Linked DNA regions of Homo sapiens: all the other regions are linked to region 1. Evidence: promoter capture Hi-C in 16 types of primary human blood cells and fetal thymus (Javierre and others, 2016). All regions are on one chromosome and are shown on one strand. The core of a region is centred on a gene start or on the middle of the fragment in contact, and the rest is flanking DNA. Distances in the headings are between cores, read along the strand shown. Region 1 holds the start of LINC02694 (long intergenic non-protein coding RNA 2694). Region 2 overlaps SPRED1 (sprouty related EVH1 domain containing 1). Region 3 has its middle 58 kb from the start of FAM98B. Region 4 has its middle 42 kb from the start of FAM98B. Region 5 has its middle 25 kb from the start of FAM98B.

What was found. The method cuts DNA at HindIII sites, captures the fragments that hold promoters and counts their contacts. A CHiCAGO score of 5 or more calls a contact.
Region 2: a contact is called between a fragment that was not itself captured here and the fragment with the promoter of LINC02694 in region 1, in 1 of 17 cell types (M1 macrophages). The highest score is 5.1, in M1 macrophages.
Region 3: a fragment that was not itself captured here is called in contact with the fragment with the promoter of LINC02694 in region 1 in 1 of 17 cell types (naive B cells); the score reaches 6.3 in naive B cells.
Region 4: a fragment that was not itself captured here is called in contact with the fragment with the promoter of LINC02694 in region 1 in 1 of 17 cell types (total B cells); the score reaches 7.0 in total B cells.
Region 5: a contact is called between a fragment that was not itself captured here and the fragment with the promoter of LINC02694 in region 1, in 15 of 17 cell types (naive B cells, total B cells, naive CD4 T cells and 12 more). The highest score is 21.7, in naive B cells.

What each region holds. Positions count from the first base shown.
Region 1 is chr15:38,694,343-38,698,469 of GRCh38, reverse strand. It overlaps LINC02694 (long intergenic non-protein coding RNA 2694), which reads right to left and starts at 1,872. Exons shown (of 2, transcript NR_160786.1): 1 at 1,731-1,872; 2 at 1-332. RefSeq lists an enhancer at 1,713-1,762. The HindIII fragment of the contact is 8,690 bases long and covers 1-4,127 here.
Region 2 is chr15:38,354,180-38,358,306 of GRCh38, reverse strand. It overlaps SPRED1 (sprouty related EVH1 domain containing 1), which reads right to left. Exons shown (of 7, transcript NM_152594.3): 7 at 1,058-4,127. Among named protein-coding and RNA genes, the nearest start is that of FAM98B, 98 kb to the left of the region's middle. The HindIII fragment of the contact is 329 bases long and covers 1,772-2,100 here.
Region 3 is chr15:38,394,478-38,398,604 of GRCh38, reverse strand. No RefSeq gene overlaps it. Among named protein-coding and RNA genes, the nearest start is that of FAM98B, 58 kb to the left of the region's middle. The HindIII fragment of the contact is 1,010 bases long and covers 1,800-2,809 here.
Region 4 is chr15:38,410,255-38,414,381 of GRCh38, reverse strand. No RefSeq gene overlaps it. Among named protein-coding and RNA genes, the nearest start is that of FAM98B, 42 kb to the left of the region's middle. The HindIII fragment of the contact is 819 bases long and covers 1,319-2,137 here.
Region 5 is chr15:38,426,690-38,430,816 of GRCh38, reverse strand. No RefSeq gene overlaps it. Among named protein-coding and RNA genes, the nearest start is that of FAM98B, 25 kb to the left of the region's middle. The HindIII fragment of the contact is 672 bases long and covers 1,513-2,184 here.

The DNA of each region.
Region 1 (4,127 bases), core at 623-3,122:
GACTTTCCCAAGTAGCAGCCCCCACAGACACATCTGTCACTGGGTCGCAGGAAGACAGGAAGTGGTGAACGGCGGGGCACAGTTAGGTAGGAGGGGCTGGAAGCCACTTCTGGGCTTCTCTTGGAGTCAAACTTTGTAATGCAGGAGATCCATGCATTTCCTTGGACCCAGCATTGTCTGAAGACATGAGCTGGAGCTTGTATCAACTTGCCAGCCCCAAAAGGACTCTTGGAGAAGAGAAGGGAAGCATCTTCTCCCAGATTCCAATCCCTGAGCTCTTGTTGGTGGCCCTGGGTTAGATGTTCACTTGCTCTGAGCCTCAGCTTTCCTCCCTGTAAAATGGGGATAACATTACCTAATTCATATAGTTGTTAGAATTAAATGAAATAAAATTCATCAAGTTTCTTGTACAGAATAGATGACTAATGAATGGGATGGGTCTGGAGCACCTGCCTGGGATGGAGCCACTGACTGACTATGAAGGAGCAGAGAGTTCTACGTGCTTCCTAAAAACGCCAGCTTCTAGCAACACCTATGCCAGGGGACATCAGCAAAAAAGTAAACCCAGGGGTGCCAAGAAGCACTTGAGACCAGAGTAAGGATGCCCTCCCCGTCACTGGCACACAGCTAACCATGGAAAAGGACTTCTCTATGACTGCCAGCCACCAAGGAAATTAGGGACACCAGAGGCAAGAAAATTATGTTCAGTTACAAAATACATTCCATTTTATAGCCATTTCTATTATCGGTTGCTACTATAATAAATTACCAAAACTTTAGCAGCTTAAAACACACACTATCATTTAGTTCTATGGGCCAGAAGTCCTATGGGTCTCATAGGACTAAAATCAACGTCTCGGCAGGACAGCGTTCCTTGGTGGCAGCTCTGGGGGTGCATCACTATCTTTGCTCATTCTGGTCTTGACAGTTCCGTGGGACTGTAAGACTGAGGTCCTTGCTGGTTGCTAACTGGGGCCACCCTGAACTCCTAGAAGACATTTGCTCTGTCCTTACATAGAGTCCCTACCTCTCAGAACCAGCCACAGGGCATGGAATCCTTCTCTCATGGCCCTCTCTTTGACTCCAATTCCCCTAGCTGCATTTCTGTCTCTGACTGCACCCAGGGAAGCCTGTCTGCTTTTTAGGATTAGATTAGGCCCATTCGGATAATCCAGGATAATCTCTTTATCTCAAGATCCTTAATGTTAACCACACTTGCAAAATCCTGTTTGCTATTAAGATAACATATTTACAGTTTCTAGGAATGAGAATGTAAACATCTTTGGGTTGGGGGAGTGGGCATCTTTCTGTCTATCAAACTATTCACCAGGCATTTATTTACTATCTTAATGGCCAAGTACAGTGCTATGTGCTGAATTGATGTTGGTATAAGGGGCATGGGGCAGGGGAGAAAGTCTAGGATGGGTGATGCCCCCCACTGGGATATCTGACTTAGAGCTTTGCAGTACTCCAGGGGATGCTGTTGACATAAAATACAATGTAGATTGTAACTCTCACCTCTCACTCCCTTAACCCTCTTGACTCCCCAGTCCTTGCCCCTGACTTATACAGGCTGGAGGTGTCTGAATAAGGTCATTCCAGTTCTCTGGGAGGCAGGAGCTAAGCTCACCAGGGGACTGAGATCCAGGTTCAGCCATAGCAGAAACTGAGAACCCTGCTAGATCCAGGTTCAGCCATAGCAGAAAAAAACAGAGCAAGGTGGGACTTACAGCCATCCAAACAGACGCCTGGAGACAGATGCTGCTCCTGCCCTTAGCCTTGCTTCCTGGCCTGGTTTCATGGTTCCTCCGGGGACTAGAGAGGGAAATGCCCAGGTCCTCTTGGGCCCCTTGTAGCTCCATATCAGAACAGAAAACCTGTCACTAACTGAAGTCCCTTCCGGCTGAGGTACCCCGGCCTATATTTTGCAGCTCCAGGGCTCATCAGAGCCACCAATTTGCTGATGGGTTCTCAACCACAAGGATGGTGAGTCAGCACAGTGGTTGACTCTCAGCAGAGAGGATGCAGCCTTCAGCAGAGCTCCTGGTGGGGCAGCCTCCTGATCAGCCTGTGCTGTGGTCCTGCCCCTGCATTTCTTCCAGTCCTGGACGTCCCTGGCCTGGCTGGCACCCTAGTCGCACACCCAAGAAGCAGTTCAGCTTGCTGAGCACAGTGTTTCCCAAAACTGTGGCATAAGAGGTGAAGGATAGACCAGGGAGGAAGTCTTCAGCCCAGTCTGACAAACACAGGCCAACGTTTGGCCAACAGCAACTCAGGCTCTTTGCTCTAGGCCAAACTTGAAACATTAGTGTGCTGGTAGGTGTTCTGCCTTCCCTCCCTCTGCTCTAGAATTCAGATCTGGAAGCCAGGTCCTGACAGCTGGGATCCAGATGCAGTCCCCATCACAGCATCACATTCTGGCCAACCAGGCTTCCAGTGGCAGGAGCTGCCACCAGGAATGGGCACCAGTCCTCTCTCAGTTAAAAAGCCTTTGCTTCACACCACAAAACCCAAAGTGCCAGCTGTGGTGACAACCACTGCTCCTACCACTTAAAATTTGCTGGCAAGGGAGACTTTTAGAGAATGATTCCCCCACAAATATAGCATTCCTTTTTTTAATCTTTCCTGTACCCCTCTTAGGGCTAAGTTACTGATGATAGCCCTGCGTGATACAGAGCAAGCTGGCAGCAAGGAGGAAAATTGTCAGCAGTGACAAGCTCCAGATGACAGTTATGTGGCTTGGAAGGCAAGTCTTACTCTAAAGAGATCCTGCCCCCATCCCAGCTCTGGATTACTTGGTCTGATAGGTTTTACAGGGTATGACCCCAGTTTTCTGTTTAAGGACATTGGCCTCCAGATATGACTAGGAGGGAGTTTTCCTCTAATATCTTTCCGCAAAGATCACCATGACAATGACCAGAATAATAAATATCTATAATCACATGCAATCTTTAGCTTTAGTAATAGAGTGTGACAGAGAACTCTGCTGCTGCTGCTGCTGCTGCTGCTGCTGCTGCTGATAGTGATGGCGATGATAAGGAAGACACAAGATAATCTGACCTTCCTCAGCCTCTGATGGCTGATTACAGGTAGATGTGGCTTCTGAAGCAAAGTTACATAATTCACCTCTTGTTCCTGATCCACTTTTAGCAAAACTTCCGTGGAAAGGACCTTGTACCTTCTTGAAGTATCCAACATGCTGTCATCTTTATGTTTTCCTACCAAGTTCCCACATTTCTGCCTCAGTGGGTTCTACAGTCTGAACCCCAGAAACAATTTCATAGTTCAAACATCTGGCATGCTATTACATCAAAGGGATTGCAGATTCCCAACCTGGAATGGAAGAATCCTTGACTCCCCGCACCCGCCCCCCAATTCTGCTCTACCTCAAAACTGCCTACATCATCTCAACCACCCAAGTTTTGGGAAACGGGTGAATTCCCTCTTCCTTTTCATTGAGACTAGCCCAGGTCATAGACCCAATCTCTTTACTGGGGACTTAGGCTAATAATTTCGAGTACACAAAATCAATAGCAAAAATAAAGTCCCACGTTGCAGAACATCCTCAACTGAGGAGAGAGCTCATTGGTTGAGAGTGTTTGTAGTATCATGCACTGCCCAGGAATGCAGAGAACACGTAGTTCTGTTAGCTCTTATTGATTGAGAGTGGAAGACAGCTCTTGGAATGTAGGGAAAAACTTCTACGGATGTCATGGAAATAAAGATTCATGTTTTTTAAATAATGGAATCACAATGAATCAGACCAGAGTGACATTAAACTGGATGTCCCTGTCCTTAAAGTTGAAGGTGAGATCCTTTCAGGCAAGCAGGCAATGCTGTCACTGGGAGACTCTCATGAGTTCTGGGAAGACAAGGCTCCCAGTATAGAACATCTGGTAACTTCCCAACTGTTACACTATCTTTTAGGAACCATTAACATAAGTGTCCAGTCATGTCCTGGAATTGGCCTAAGTTCCATGTGTGCTCTTAAAATGAACTTGGACCCTACTCTACTCCAGCCCACCAGCCTTCTCACTGTTCTTCCAACACCCCAAGTTTGTTTCTACCTTGGAGGCCTTACCCACTGTTGCCTCTGTCTGAAACATTCCTCCTTCAGCTTCTTTGTG
Region 2 (4,127 bases), core at 687-3,186, 340 kb after region 1:
GTCCTGGCCGGGTGCGGTGGCTCATGCCAGTCATCTCAGCACTTTGGGGAGGTCGAAGTAGAAGGATTGCTTGAGCCCAGGAGTTCGAAACTAGCTTGGGTAACACAGCATCACCTTGTCTCTACAAAAAAAGAAAAAAATTAGCTGGGTATGGTGGCAATTGTTGTGGTCCCAGCTACTTGGGAGGCTGAGGTGGAAAGGTTGTTTGAGCCTGGGAGGTCAAGTTTGCAGTGTAATGTGATTGCTCACTGCACTCCAGCCTGGGCACAGAGCGAGACTGTGTCTCCAGAAAAAAAAAAAAAAAAAAAGTAGTCCTGACAATAAATGCAACTTTGGTTCCCAAAAGAGGCTCTGTGGAATAACTGACAGATGAATCGCTCATCATTTGGGGGGGGGGGGGCGGGGGGAGCGGGAGGTCGGAAGAGTACTGTATACACGGCTCATTTTAGAGCATTGTTTCCTACTGCCTCAAGGAGAAGTATTGCTGCTTTGGTGAAAATGAATCCCTCCAATAAAATACCACCAATTGAGCAAAATGAACAATTCCACAAACTGAACTATGTATGTTTTTAGTGCTTCCCATTGGATCAACTCACAACTGGCATATCTTGAAGCATTATCACAATTATCCTCCAATTTAAAAAATTCCCATGCCATACTGTGGATCACGTACCACAACTTAGTGAGATAGGGGGCCCAGAAATGGACAAGGGAGAGTAGAAATTAAGAAATTATTCCTTTATAAAACAAAATTACTCCAGCTTAAAATAATAAATAGAATTTCATTTTAACAGAATGATTATTTTATGAAGTGTATCTGTGACTCCTGTAACAGAAAGCTGAAACTGCATCAGGAAGAAAAGCCTATGCTTTGGAGTCAATTTGTTTCAGACCTGGTGCCTCTGTGTTATCTGGTATTTTGACCTTTTGATGCCCAAATCTCTTCCTTAGAAAAATAAGGAAGATAATACTTACAAGGTTACTTGAGGATTAAAAGTAATCATGTATAAAATACATTATGTAACAAAAATAAAGACAAAAGAAACACTATTTCAACTGTGATTTTGTTAAGACTTTTATTATGAATGTATTTTTTGAACCATCATTTCAGATCTCACTAAAACTGCAAATCTTAGAGCAGTTCAATTTAAAGAGTGACTACAGCTTTCATACCATTGATGTCGATGTCTTTTTCTTTAAGGAGCACTATGTGCATGACACTTATATTGATAGCCAAGCTAGAACCCTAGTTTCAATTTCCTTGTTATAAAAGCTATTCTACTTACTTGTGGGTATTAACTTGATGTGAAGAATGTAAAGCAAATTCTGAAAAACCTGTAAATAAGCACATGAGACTACATTTCATAATTAATGGTAAAGATACAGTTACTCCTTGATTTTTCAAATAAACTATAATATAGTAATCCAACTTATTCTAGTGTTGAGATACACTATAATTTTTTATTACTGTCCTAATAACCTTTCCTTTAGATTATTCGTTATTTTTGGTTATATGGCGAGTTAAGTAAAACGATGAAACTGACTTGAATATAAAAAAATCAGTAGTCCTGGGTTAAACAATTGCCACTTAAGGTCATTAGCTTAGCTGCAACATGTTACCAAACCAATAAATATAACATTATTAGCTTAGAGACTTAAAAAAAAATCTGAATACAATTAAGGATGAATAAATATGTTATTAAGATGAACTATATGTGAACTTTCAGTTTAAAAGTATACTTTTAAAGAACAGAGCTAATTATCAAAAGCTTCCATTTTTACTTTCTCCTCCAGTAATTATCTCTTATGTGATAATTTGATAAGCTCTAGGAGAATAAGAAAAAGTCCTTTTATAATTCATGACAGGTTTAATCAGGTAATTCCAGGAGGGAAAAAAACCATTAAAACAAATTCTTATGATAATCATCTGCTATGTCCAATTACACGGGTATGAAGTAACAGAAATGGTTACAAACTTATAATGTATTATTTACATTATATACTCAAAACTATCAAGCTAGTTAACTATATCTGAGGAGACACATTATGACATGAGTTAAACAGTTTTTCATTGTTCATTAGAAAGAATGCAGTCAAGCTTTTAATGGAAATAATATACAAGTGAGGCACTTTTGAGGTCAGAAATAGAAAGCAAACGACACTACACACTGGAAATGTTCACAAAAATCTATGTGTATTTTTAATACAAAGACTTTTCAACTAGTTTATTCTTGAAAAAATTTCAAAACAACTGATGCAATTTAAGAAGCTTTCAGGAATAATGGCTAACATTTATCAGTGTACCAAAGCATATGAATCTTTTATAACCACCTGGCTGCTAGGCAAACAGTACCTAATACCTTAAAGCCTTTTTTTTTCTTTTGGTTTATATAAATCACCTCCGGTTGTGTTTCTCTCTTAAAGAAATTCATTCTTCATGTTTGTCTCATTGCAAAACACCTCATGGTGCTATTATGATTTATAGACTTTTTTAGTGCAACAATAATGCCAGTTTCTAGTGCTTCCTCTTACACTTTGAAGTGTGAACATGGAAGTCAAATCAAGAATGAGCATAATAATTAGTAAAGAATCCTTGCTTTTCAGGTAACTAAAGTTTTCTAAGTTTTATGTGGAAAAAATGTTACACTTGCTTAATGCACCTTTGGGCTACAATTAAAAACCCAATTTAACACATACTTCCAAGTGTAATCACAAAATCGAATGTAAATTTCAACACAAGAAATATCCTTAAGATTCTTTACATTGACCATTTAGAGGAAAGCACATTTCCTGTACTCTGGAGACTCACGTGCATATTAAGAAACATTTCCGTGCCATTTAATTAAGGGGGCAGGGGAGAGGAAAAAGAAAAGAAAAAGCAAGACTTACCCAAGATATCAGATGGCACTATACACATGAATTGAAAGTGCATTTACATTACTTCAAAAGCTCATTTTAGGCACTGCTGAATAACCAATGAAAATAGGTAGTTTCAAGTTTTTCCCTTTAGATTTTAACCCCACCCCATCATCATTTCAGAAACATACACACGGCTGGGCGCAGTAGCTCATGCCTGTAATCCCAGCACTTTGGGAGGCCGAGGTGGGTGGATCACCTAAGGTCAGGAGTTCAAGACCAGCCTGGCCAACATGGTGAAACCCCATCTCTACTAAAATACCAAAACTTAGCTGGGCATGGTGGTGGGTGCCTGTAATCCCAGCTACTTGGGAGGCTGAGGCAGGAGAATCGCTTGAACCCAGGAGGCGGAGGTTGCAGTGAGCTGAGATCGCACCATTGCACTCCAGCCTGGGCAACAAGAGTGAAACTCCGTCTCAAATAAAAGAGAGAAAAACGTACACACACACTCTCTGAAGCTGTCATGATAAAATACAGGTGTGATTATGTTTTTTCATGTTTTGATTATTATTTTTAAAAATTCTCCCTGACTGGCGGAAGGAGGAAAAAAATACCATTTTGGTAATGGCTTTTGAGAGTTAAAGCAACTGGTTCTATAAATGCCTCAGTACATCCATTAAGTTTGATTGCCAGTCCCAAATATCAACAAATATTTTAAAACAGGATATGTAAGAAAAAAGTGCTTAAAATCTTTCAGCAAGCCAACAAGACACATTAGGTAAATAACCATTTTACAATTCCTTTGAGACAGTTCTTATTCCTGGTTTCCCTGGTAGAGGTGGTCACCACATAAATAGCCCTTTAATGGTAGTAGTGATGAACCCTGTCAGATCCCTATTGCCATCTCATGTCTCTGGCCTGGAAATCATCCAGTAGGTGGTGCTGAAGCTCCACACGACATACTTCTTCAGAAATCAAATGATGTCCCTTTTGAAGCCAAGAGAAATATTTAAGAATTATCAATTCTGAACAAGTTCATCAGACCAGTCTTGCTTGTCATGCCGTCTAGATGATTCCATTTTCAATACTATTACTCAAGCAGTTGTCTTGAGCCATCTGCTTATATCAGATAAAAACAAAGAAAAGTTTTAGAGGAAAAGCCAATTGGCAGTGCCGAATCTGTACAGAGAATGAGAAAATGTTCCTGAAGGTGCCTATACACATGTTTAAGAATCAGTGATTTAAACTACCCATTTGCTTTCACAAAGGAA
Region 3 (4,127 bases), core at 1,055-3,554, 300 kb after region 1:
GATCAGGGGAAAGCTTTTGGTGAAAATATTAGAATTTGGATTTTTGCCATTGGAGAAGTTCAAGGGCTGACTGATCAGAGGATCTCTGAGCCATTCTCTGTCATCTAGCCAGGATAATACCTCAGCTCTCCCACAGAGTTCCATCTTGAATACCATATCCAGAGAGATAAACCACAACCTTGATTTGATTCTTAGCCACTGCCTGACCAAACAGGAAGCTTATCCTAGTGTCTACAGAATCCAAGCTGTCTGTGGAAGGTTAAGTCTGGCCAGCACACAATGAGTCAGCCGCCATTACCCAGAGGAGTGAGCTAGGGCAACCACTTTGGACAATATGTTGTTTTGGAAGTGAGGATTTCTTTTAAAACATTGGAGCCTGGGAACATGGTGTGCTTTATATAAAGTACAAAATAAATAAAAGATTTCAAGGAATTCCTCTCCCACATGACCAATTCGAAAACCCAAGCAGATAAACCCAAGCACTAAATGGATTCAGTGAGCACTCATTTACTCCAAATTTAAAAATATAATACACATGAAACTATTTTAGAAGTTTTTTTCCCCTAAAAAGGGAAGTCACTGAAATAGAGACAACTGGCCACAATAATTTGGTTTTTACCCAGTGTGGGCTTCCAAATTACATCAAAAAAAGGCACCAGAAGGGATTCAACTTTTTTTTGTAGGAGGAGGGGAGAACATGGGTTTGATGTCATGTTAGGAAGTAAGGTCAGCCCCATCCAAAAATAATTAATAACAGTTTACAGTTAGTGAGTAAATTGTCTAAGAGTGCCCTGTTTTTAATTTGGGGGAAGGGACACTCAATACCACATTGCTTCTTGTTTGCTATTATAATGTTTATTTGCAGCTGATATTAATTGTTTTCCACTGACATCCACTTTTTTCTCTTTCCATGGTAATAAAATGCATGATTTCTAACGGACCCTGTGGTTGCTCAGAATAAAGATATTTCGTATCACCTTTGCAGCTAGGTGTGGTCATATGGCTAATTCTGCTAATGCAGAGAGAAAGCGGCACGTGCAACTTATGAGCGCTTCCCTGAAAGGCACAGGCATGCTCTTTGTTTTTCCATTCTTCCTTTCTGTTAGTTGGAATTCAGATAACAATGAGTGATGTTCTAGCCATCAGTCTGGGCCAAGGGGTCCTTGAGAAGGGAATCAGCATGGTGAAGCCACACAGTGGAAGTAGCCTAGGTCTCTGACCCTCTGCAGTGCCCAGATTGTCCTGGACTGACAAACTCGACTTCTCAGGAACATGAGAGGAATAAACATCCATCCTGCTTAAGCCATTGTTATTTTAGGTTTCTTTGTTGCTTACAGCCAAAGCTAATCCTAATCAACAAGCTATTTTAAAAGTGTTGTTTGATTGAGAGAGCAAAGTCTAAATTCTCAAGTAACTATAACCTAAACCTGGATGTTAAGATGCCATGGTCCTATCAACAATCTTTTTCCTCATTTAGCCATTTGACACTGGCTCTTGAGACACAGAAGAAACCAAGAAGCTTTTGAGAAAGGACAGCCGAGAGCACAGAGGTTCCCAGCCCAAAGAGTGACACACATGCAGGCTAGACTCTGTGTTTTCATGGTAAAAATGATATGGCATTCGTGATCTTTTTCAGGGAAAATTCTGGCTTAAAAAAAAAAAGGCTCCAGCACTGGAGCTTGGCATCTCATCACTCAGGATTCATTTCTTTAGGTTAAGTAAATGTATGTTTTCGCCCTTTAAAATGCAAACTCATAGAGAGGCAAGACAGCAAGTCTCTTACACATTAGTATAAAGCTTCTTCTGTTTCATTCTGATTATAGAAAAGTCTTTAAAAGATAAAAGATATGTGTATTGAGGGGAGAGATGGGGAAAGTATAGAAATTGAGGATTCTAAAGAAGGAGAGAAAAGATAATTAAAAGACCATCTTCAAATATTTTATGATTATGCCAAGGACTGTCAATGCAAACAATGTCCAGAACCTTTACTCGGTGGAGTGATTGAAACCATAATGTAAAGAAATGTCAAGACAATTCCTTGGAATATGAACAACATGATCTTACCACCAACCTAGCTCGAAAAATGTAAAGAGTTTAAAAATCAGAATATACGGAGAAGGGTGAACACAGAGAAGTATCAGCAGTTTGCCCGGCATTATTGAAAACAAATAATACACTTGGAAGTTTCAATATTCGATAGGCAATAGCCATTGGGCAAATTAATCAGTTGCATTTTGCAACCCCTAATAAAATAATAAATCCAGGCAATAATAATCAATGACTTGCTAAAACCATTAGTTAAAAGAGGATGGGATGTCAGGTGCAGTGGCTCACGCCTGTAATCCTGGTGCTTTGGAGGCTGAAACCGGAGAAGCAGCTTGAGGCCAGGAGTTGGAGACCAGCCTGGGAAACATAGTGAGATCCCATCTCTTAAAAAAAACTGTTTTTTTATTTAGCCAAGCATGATGGTATATACCTATAGTCTTTGCTACTTGAGAGGCTGAAGTGGGAGGACTGCTTGAGCTCAGGAGCTCGAGGCTGCCGTGAGCTATGATCACACCATTGCATTCCAGCCTGGGTAAAACAGCAAGACCACATCTCTAAAAAAATAAAGTAAAATGAAAGAGGATGGGGGACTGTATAATGAGCAGGTCAAGCTGACAATATCTGAACTCACCAATCAATCTTAACATCACAAAATGAGAGACAATCAGACAGTGTGTGCCTCCTGATAGAAAGCAGTAGGAATTATATGGCACTACCTATGGAATCATCTTGCCAAAATATGGAATCTGAATCTGATCAAGCTTTCCAAGAAACAGAGAAACATGCTAAATGCTATCTTGGAAATTCAATCAGCAAAATCCAGAATGTGAGAAATTGTACAGACAAATGAATGACAATGAAAAAAGACAATAAGAAGAGGAGTGTTTAATTTAAAAAATGCTTAAGAGACTTATCAGATGAAACTTGTGATCCTTGTTTAAATTCCCTAATCAATCAAACCGACAAACAAAAACCAATTGTAAAATGACATTTATGAGACCAAAAAACAATCTGAACATTGACTACAAATTTGATGATATATTAAATTGTTGTCATTTCTTTAGTTTCAATAATAATATTGTGATCTTGGATTAGGCAAACAGTTTCTTAAATATGACACCAAAAACACAGCAACAAATAAAACATACAAATTGGACTTTATCAACATTTAAAACTTCTGTGCATCAAAGGACACTATCATGAAAGTAAAAAGAAAATCCACAGAACAGGAGAAAATATTTTCAAATCATATATCTGATAGGGTTGAGTATCCAAAATATATCTTAAAAACTCATAGATGCAACAATAAAGAGACAGCCCAATTTAAAAATGGGAAAAGGACTTGAGTAGACAATTTCCAAAAAATATCTATATTAATAACCAGTAGGACATGAAAAGATGTTCAACATCATTAGTCATTAGGGAAATGCAAATCAAAACAACAAAGGGATACTTCACACCCACTAGAATGGGTATAATAAAAAAGACAAATAACATGTTACCAAGGATGTGGAGAAATCAGGACCACACACATTGCTGGTGGGAAGATAAAAACGGTGCAGCCACTTTGGAAAACGGTCTAGCAATTCCTCAAAAAGTTAAATGTAGAATAACCAATGATCCAGTAATTCCACTCCTAGGTATATACCCAAGAGAAAAGAAAACATATGCTGTCACAAGAAGTGATACGTGAATTTTCACAATAGCATTGATGATAATAGCCAAAAAGTGGAGAAAATAATCCAAATGTTGATCAACTGATGAATGGGAAAACAAAATGGGGTTTACCTATACAGTGGAATATTATTCAGCCAGAAGAAGGAATGAAGTACTGATACCTCTATGATATTGATGAGTCTTGAAAACATTATCCTAAGTGAAAGAAGCCAGACCAAAAAAGCCACACATTGTATGATTCCATTTATATAAAATGTTCGAAATAAGCAAATCTATAGAGACAGAAAGTAGTCTAAAGGGTTGTGAGGATTTGGAAGTGGCTGCTAATGTGTAAGGGTTTTCTTTTTGGGGTGATGGAAGGGAATTTCCTATTTTCCATGCCCACCATAGAGAAGGACAGCTTT
Region 4 (4,127 bases), core at 479-2,978, 280 kb after region 1:
TAAGAATAATCATTAGAAACAAAAGGATATTAAATGAAACTAACTGAGGTCCCCAAGAAGAGTCAGGAAATTTAGGAAATCTACACATACATATCTCAATCTATCCTTTTAATTCTGTTATAAATTTTATCATGGACACAAAATAAGGGATAAATGAGGCTGAAAACTATTCTGTACAACATTAGGAAGTGAACATGCCTTAGCAGGGAAAGGAGATCAGCAACGTGGGGCGGATTCACAGCCCAGCTCTGCTTCCCCACCATTAAAAGGCTTCAACACAGCCAACTGTATGCTATGGACTCGGGCAGGGAATGTTTCAGAAGTGAGAGGAATTTAGGCTAGTTGTGTGTCTCTCAGTCCAAGGAGACCTGTATAGAACTAGCATTCAGAATAGAACAGTCAATACACAATGAGCCCAACTTTCTGGAAATTCCAAATATGAGATGGGAACCTATAAAACAACACGATACAGAGCTCTATTCACATTACACAAGTGTTAACAATACAAAAGCACTCTCCCTTTTTTCTCATAATTCTTTTTTTTTTTAAGTTAGATTCAGGGGGTACAAGTGAATATTTGCTACATGGGTATATTGTGGAATGGTGGGCATTGGGCTTCTGGTATACCTGTCACCCAACTATTGAACGTTTTATCCAATATATCCAGTAGGTAATCTTTCAACCCTCTCCCTCTCCTTCCTTTCCCATTTTTGGAGTCCCCAGTGTGTATTATTTCCTTCTTATGTCCATTGTTATAAATGAGAACAATGTGATATTTAATTTTCTGCTTCTGAGTTAGTTCACTTAGGATAATGGCCTCCAGCTCTATCCATGTTTCTGCAAAGAAGATGATTTCATCCTTTTTTTAAAGGCTATGTAGTATTCCATGGTGTATATACACCACATTTTTTTAACCCGGTCAACCATTGATGGGCACTTAGTTCCATGGCTTTGCTATTGTGAATGGCACTACCACTTTTTTAAAGGATGCATTTATCACAGGATTTCATTTGAAAGAAATCCTGCTAGTGCATTTAAAATAGGTGAAATTACCAAAATTTTAAAAACATAATTTTTCGGTAATATGTTTATGGCCTCATGACATTCTAAAAACAGAGGTAAAAAGTATATTTCTAAGAAATGAATACCATTATCATTAATTTTTTTCTAAAGTTAGCTTTCTGTGTTATATGATTCTCTCCTAATAGTCATGTGAAAATATCAGATGTAAGACATTTCCATTTAAAGTTGGGCGTTGCAGGAGCAAAATACCAATCAATTATAAAGGAAAATATGATGGACACATCAAAGTCAAGCTTACAAGCAATGGGGAAAATATCTGCTCAAATTATTTTCACTTTTGTTTCTAAATATTTAATTTTTCAACAATTTAACTATTTAAATTCAAAGTTTCCAACTATATTGCTAAACTAGAAATTGCTGAGATCTTCAAAAATATTTATCAAGAAAAAAACTGACATGAACCCTACACTAATTAAAGCTATAGATATATATTTTGGGGGGAGTGTTCAAGTCCCAGGTTAATCACCTGTGCTTTAGACTGGAGGCAACATGAACTCTAAGACAAGATGGAATATGTGGAAGTGGAAAGGACCACCGATACAAAAATAACATCTGCTCCAACCCCTAGGCAATCAGAGTGTCAAGCCTAAAATGCCTTTGGCAGTACATCTGCAGTATTTAAGTCTCGCGCTGAAATGACCTAGAGGTGCAGTTTCACATAGCCCTGGGGAAGGCTGACATCCAGCAGAGGGGTCTGTGGTGAATGGTGAGGGTCAAGTTGAGCAGCTGGGGTCTGCTATGAATGGTGAGGGTCAAGCTGAGCAGCTGGACCTCACTCCCTTGCCTCCAATCCAAGTCAGGTTTATCTGTTTATGTATTGGGCCTCTCAGTGTGATTTTATTTGAAGGAAAGTTTTTTTCTGCTAAAAAAATACAAATTAGGAGAATTTGAAAGTGCCGAATAGGTTATCTCTGGGTGATTTTTATCTTTCGGATCATCCATGGTTTATTTTTCTATTTTTGCTTTCTATATCTTTCATATTTTCAACAATAAAAATGTATTGCTTGTGTAATTAAAACACATGCAAAGTTACATTAAAATAAAATAATAAGCTTTGCCTACTTCTCCAAAAAAAAGTGCTGAAAACAGGCTTTCTGCTGGGATTGTAGAATTTTGAATGTGCGTTGCAGTTTTCAAACATAAAGCACAGCTGTTTTGTCTCTTACCCTGAAGCTGTGAAAAAGGGGAAAGATTTTTGAAAGCAGGAACAGGAAAAGACTGTTGAGAAAAGTGGCTGCTATTTCTAGGCTAAAGTCTCCCTGACAACACTGTTCTTACAAGTAATGCCTTCTTACGTGGTCTTAGCGGGATTGATGAGTGATGAATCCAGAGGTTCTGTGGGACCCAAAGTCAGCAGAGACCAGAAGAAGTTTGAGACAAAGAGAAGAATGATAGCAGGCTGGAGAGATGTAACAGACAATTTACTGCAGTCAGTGGTGTCTAATGGACAGTGTAGCTAAGTGGCCCACAGAGATCTGCAAGAAGATAGGACCAAAGAGGTCACTAGGTTTGCAGCCTTGCAGGTCAGGATGAGGTTCCTGAGATACGAGAGGGTCCAAGACCTCAGGGATTGAGGCTGAAGAAAAAGTGCAGCTTTGAGGAACTGCTACAAAGAGCAAAAGGTGAGCATAATCAGCAATTGGCTGGCACAGAAAAACTGCAGACTGATTAAAAATGAGTACTGGACATTGGGGGTTAGAGATGATTTAGAGGTGCAATGCTCTAAAGTAAAAAAAACCTAATTGTAATTTAGTTTTAAACGTGTAATTTAAAAACAAAGCACAATAGATAAAAAGAATGGGCATAGCTTTTGTGGCTAGATCCCTGAGCAGTGTTCCCCACTCAATGGATCAGGCAATTCTGGAATGCATGAATTTAAAGAAACAGAAATACATTACGGATGTAAATAACAAAAACAAAGAATTCGCAAGACAGGCACAAAAGCATACACATTAGAAACAGGACTTAAGCCCGTGCAGAGAGAACCTGCATAGGTGTCACAATCAGCATATATCTAAAGCAATGGTTCTCAAAGTGTGGTCCCCAAACCAGCATCACCAGCATCACCTGGGAGCTTGCTGGAAATGCACATTCCCAGGCTGTGCTTCAGACCTACTGGATCATAAACTCTAGGTTGTGAGGCCTAGGAATCTGTTTTAAAAAGGCTGCCAGGTTATTTTTATGCATGTTAAATTTCAAGATTTGCTGATCCAAAAATATTAAAATCACCAGAAAAAGCTACCTATCAAACATAGTGAACACAAGAATGAACATCGAAAGAAGACGATGCCAAATGAAGCCAATCAAGGACTGAGATTCAACCTTAAACCATCCATAGCTAGAATTCTTCCCAATCTCCCACCCTAGTTCAAGTCTATATTGCTTCTTGCCTGGGCTACTTCCATAATAGCTGGGATGGCCATCTGTCCTGGTTTGCCTGGGGAAGTCCTGGTTTGAATCTGTTGTCCTGGTGTAATAATAAAAGGTCCCCATTATACTCTCAAAATTGTCCAGGTTTAGAGTATAATTGTATGGCTCCCCTAGCAATAGCCTCCTCACCATTTCCCCTGCTTCTGCTTTTGCCCATCTCCAATATGGTATCTTCACAGAAGCTAAGAATGTAAATTGTTGATGTTACTCCTCTCCTTCAAAGCCCTTCCATGACTTTTCGTTCCTCTGAGACAGAACTTTGACCCTTTGCAATGGCCCTCAGTGCTTATCTTCCCATCTTCTCCTTGTTCCATGTTCCTTCTTGCTTTCTTCATTCTCAGTAAAGTGGCCTCCTGTCAGTACCTTGAGAATCCATGTTCATCTGACCTCAAGACCTCTGCACATGCTGAGGACAGTCCTTCTTCCTGGACTGTCCAATTTCCCTCCCTCTGCCAGTGTCATGTAGTCTCTTTTTTTCACTTAGTAATATTCTGAATGATTTCTCAAATACTCTTTGAAAGAATTATTTTAATGACTGCATAGTTTCCCATCATGATCTACCTTAATTTATTTAGCCATTACCTAATATTATACATTTTGGATTGCTCCCTATT
Region 5 (4,127 bases), core at 599-3,098, 270 kb after region 1:
GAGTTCCAGAAAGAATCCCTGAATGTATACCACTACATAAATACATGATAGATATCACTGGATACATATAAAGACAGAGAGAGAGAAAGGGAAAAGGAAAGAGAGAAAGAGACAGGGGGAGGAATCATTATTTGTGACAGTTTTAAAACATGTTCATAAATTCTTTGGCACTTCCTCCATGGACAGGTAGGGCCCATGTACCTTCCCCTCAAATGTGGGAAGGCATGTGACTGGTAGCCCACTAGAGCACAGTGGAAGTGATGCTGTACTGCAGGCTAAGTATCAAAGGCAACACTCTTCCCAAGTGGTCCTTTTGAGACACTGGCCTTTGGTGCTCTGATCTGCCATGTAAGAAAATTCTGAGGCCATGATACTAGCGGGAAGTACAATCCCCCTGAATGGGTCCTAGGTAGGTGTTCTGGCCTACAGCTACAACTGATGTCCCAGCACACAGCAAGCATCGACTGCCAGACATGTGAAAGACAAAACCTCCAGCTGACATTTGCTCCCAGCCATCATCACTCCCAGTGTTTGTGTCATTGTCAGCTGAGGTCCCAGATATACCAAAAGGAGATAAGCCATCCCCACTGTATCCTTTCTGAATTCTTGACCCAAAGAATCCACGAGGTTGGTGAAATAGTTATTTGAAGTTGGCAAATAGGTTTGTTAAGCAGCACAGATAACATGAACTTAATGGTATAGAAATAAGCTTCTAAAGAGAAGAAATTCAAACAGATAAGTTTACATTGGGCTACAAGCAGTCACTATCTTGATCTGTCATATTTCCATTTCCATCTTATCTTTAAATTTTTTTTTTGAGATAAGGTCTTGCTCTACCACCCAGGCTGTGTGTGTGTGCATACATATTCAATGGCGGAGAGCAGGGTGCATTTCACAGTACCTACCATGCCATGCTTTAATGTAGAAGAATTACCATTCAAACCCACATCATGGCTCACTGCAGCCTCAACGTCCCAGGCTCATGTGATCCTCCCACCTCAGCCTCCTGATTAGTTGGGAGTACAGGCACACACACCACATCTGGCTAATTTTTGTATGTTTTTGTAGAAATGAGGTCTCACCATGTTGCTCAGGCTGGTCTTGAACTCATGGGCCCGAGTGATCTTCCTGCCTCAGCCTCCCAAAGTGTTGGGATTACAGACATGATCCACTGTGCCCAGCCTCCATTTTACCTTTAATACCTATTTTTTCCACATTCCTATTTATATTAGTTTTGTGTTGAAAATTAATTATGTAGAGTCAGAACTCTTTCAGGACTAATGCAATGTTTGTTTTTGTGTGATGCTAGATATTAAAAGGAGGATGTCCCTGGTGACACAATGTCAAAATTATTCTGATCCATTTGGAACATTTCCAGTGAAAATGAACAGGCGCTGCTTAAGGAAGTCAAGGACACAGGAAAAAAATATGATCAGAAAACATCCTCTAGGGACTAATTTAGGGTAAAAGCAATATATAGCAGCTCATTTCTCCTCTTTCCCTGTTAAAGCTTAATTAGCCAAAGACCACTGGGCACAATGTATAATCTGACAAAATCAGATGTATTGATTTTCAGTGAGGGAGCACATGGCAGAAGCACTGTGGCAGACCACTCAACAAGAAGGAGCAGGAAACGTCTTCTGTACAGTGTGTGTTTCACTGAAGGATTTTGAGCAGGATCCAGGAACTGAACATCGGTTCTGGATTGGAGGCTGCTTCTGAAGTAGGATTAGGAAAGTGGGGATTAACTAGGGATTAGGATTGCCACGGGGTGTCCCCTGTAATACATGGATGTAGCAGAATAGTTCCAGGGACATCATCAATAAGAAAGCAGTGGTCACTCATAGAGCAGGTCTCTATGGTATTGGAAAGAGATGCTCTCTGTTCTCTGGGATCTCCCATTGTAAGGACTTGAACTTGGAGTTATTCCATCATCGCGTGGAAAGAATTTGCCTGAGAATTAAATCAACATGGATTAAAGCAGAGCTGGGGCACACTGGAACCCCTCAATCTAGCTCTGCCTAAAAAATCCATCTCTTGAATTGCCCATCACAGAGGCTAATACGCTCCTGTTTTTTAAAGCTACTTTGTTCAAGCTACTTTTAGGAGTTACTCTTGACTAATACAAGCCTGATAACGTTTTCTGAGGTTAAGATGCTCTCACCTGAACTCCAAAGATAAGCTTGTGTGTGTGTGTGTGTGTGTGTGTGTGTGTTTGTATGTGTGTGTGTGTGTGTGTGTGCATACATATTCAATGGGGGAGAGCAGGGTGCATTTCACAGTACCTACTATGCCATGCTTTGATGTAGAAGAATTACCATTCAAACCCCCATACTCTTGACATTTATATGAGGTTATATTTCTAAGTAACTAATAAATAACATCTAATATTCAATAAATTGACTTCTGTTTGTTGAATGCATATTTTGTACAAGGTGCTGAACTATATACCCTGAGGGGAAAATAAATAATAATCCAATATCATCCTGTTTTCAAAGCTATAGTTACTAGTTATAGTCAAGGCCAAAAGTAACATAGGCAGTCAGTCTTAATAGCACCTCAGAGGCAGGAGAGGCCATTACAGACCAGCAGCAGTGGAGAAAACTCTTCCACCAAGGCACAGGAAGGGAGTGGGGCTTTGACTGAAGAGTAAAATTTCAACCTGGGTGAGAAAGAAGACATTCCAGAAAGGGGTTAAGGTAAGGAAGTTGAAAACAATTATGGAAAGAGTAACCAGGACAGCTCGGGCCAGGAGAAGACCTCCAAAAGGGAGAGGAATGGAATATAAGTTTGGAAATGTAGATTGAGACCAGTCTTGAAACACCAGACCTCCAGATTTCTATTTTATCTGGTAGGAACTAAAGTGCCAATGCAGATTTCTGATTAGAGGAATATCAAGACAAAAAGAGGTTTTTAGTCAGGCATGGTGGCTTGTGGTTGTAATTCCAGCTACTCAGGTACTCAGGAGGCTGAGGTGGGAGGATTGCTTGAGGCCAGAAGTTTGTGACCAGCCTGGGTTATATAGCTAGAGCCAGTCTCAAAAGAGATGAAGAGAGAGAGAGACGAGAGAGAGAGATTTTCAGGAAAATATATTTGGCAATTCAATGTTTCTGACTGGAGAAGAGAATGGAGAATGCTGGATCCTGCTGCTATTCTTTACACAAAAGGTGACAGAAGTGTGAGTGAGCCTCTCAGCCAAAGGCAGGATGCAGCTAACCTCACCCCTACCTCTACATCCCATACCACCACCTGCTGGAGTAATTCAGGTTGATCCTCTTGTTGGCCTCACAGTTTACAGATCAGGCTAACATTTCTTTGAGCAAAGATTTCTCATTCAACAATCATTTTTTGAGAACTGCTGCTGCAAGGAATCATTCCAGTTGTATTTTGGGTCCTAGCTTTTCCATGTTATTTAATTAAGAATGCAAAAACACAGGGGTTTGACTGACTTCACTCACAGCTGGCCCAGAAGCAGGGATGTCAGAACCACCTGGAGGGCTTTCTAGACAGGCACTTCCAGGCTCCATCCTCAGAGATTCTGATCCAGTGGAGGGGATGGGGTCTAGGAATCTGTATATTTTAAAGTTCTTTAGATGACTAAATAAAAAGTAAAGTTTGGAAAAAACTCTTGTACTAAATATTTGCATATATTTTCAGTCTGAGCAATAGCACATAGATCTGAGAACTTCCCCCTTTGAATTGTACATTTAAAATAATAATTTTAAGGCATGATGGTGTGTGCCTATAATCTCAGCTACTTGAGAGGCTGAGATGGGAGGATTTCTTGAGCCCAGGAGTTCAAGGCTGTAGTAACCCATGATTGCACCACGCACTCCAGCCTGAGTGACAGAGTAAGAACTTGTCTCTGAAAAATAAATCAGTCAATAAAATAAAATATAATAAATTTTAAGAACATGTTCCAAAAGCATGGGGGAGGGAAAGGACAAGGAGACTTAGTGAGGGACCTTGAATTTCAATCCAGTCTTTCCAATTCTCCTCTAAATATTCTGTGTATCTATTTTTCTCACCAATGAGTCATCACAAGTACCTTTTATGGCATCCAACACCCACTGTGCCACCGAGCCACCATTTAGAGTGCAGATCTTCATTATGCCTTTCACGTCATC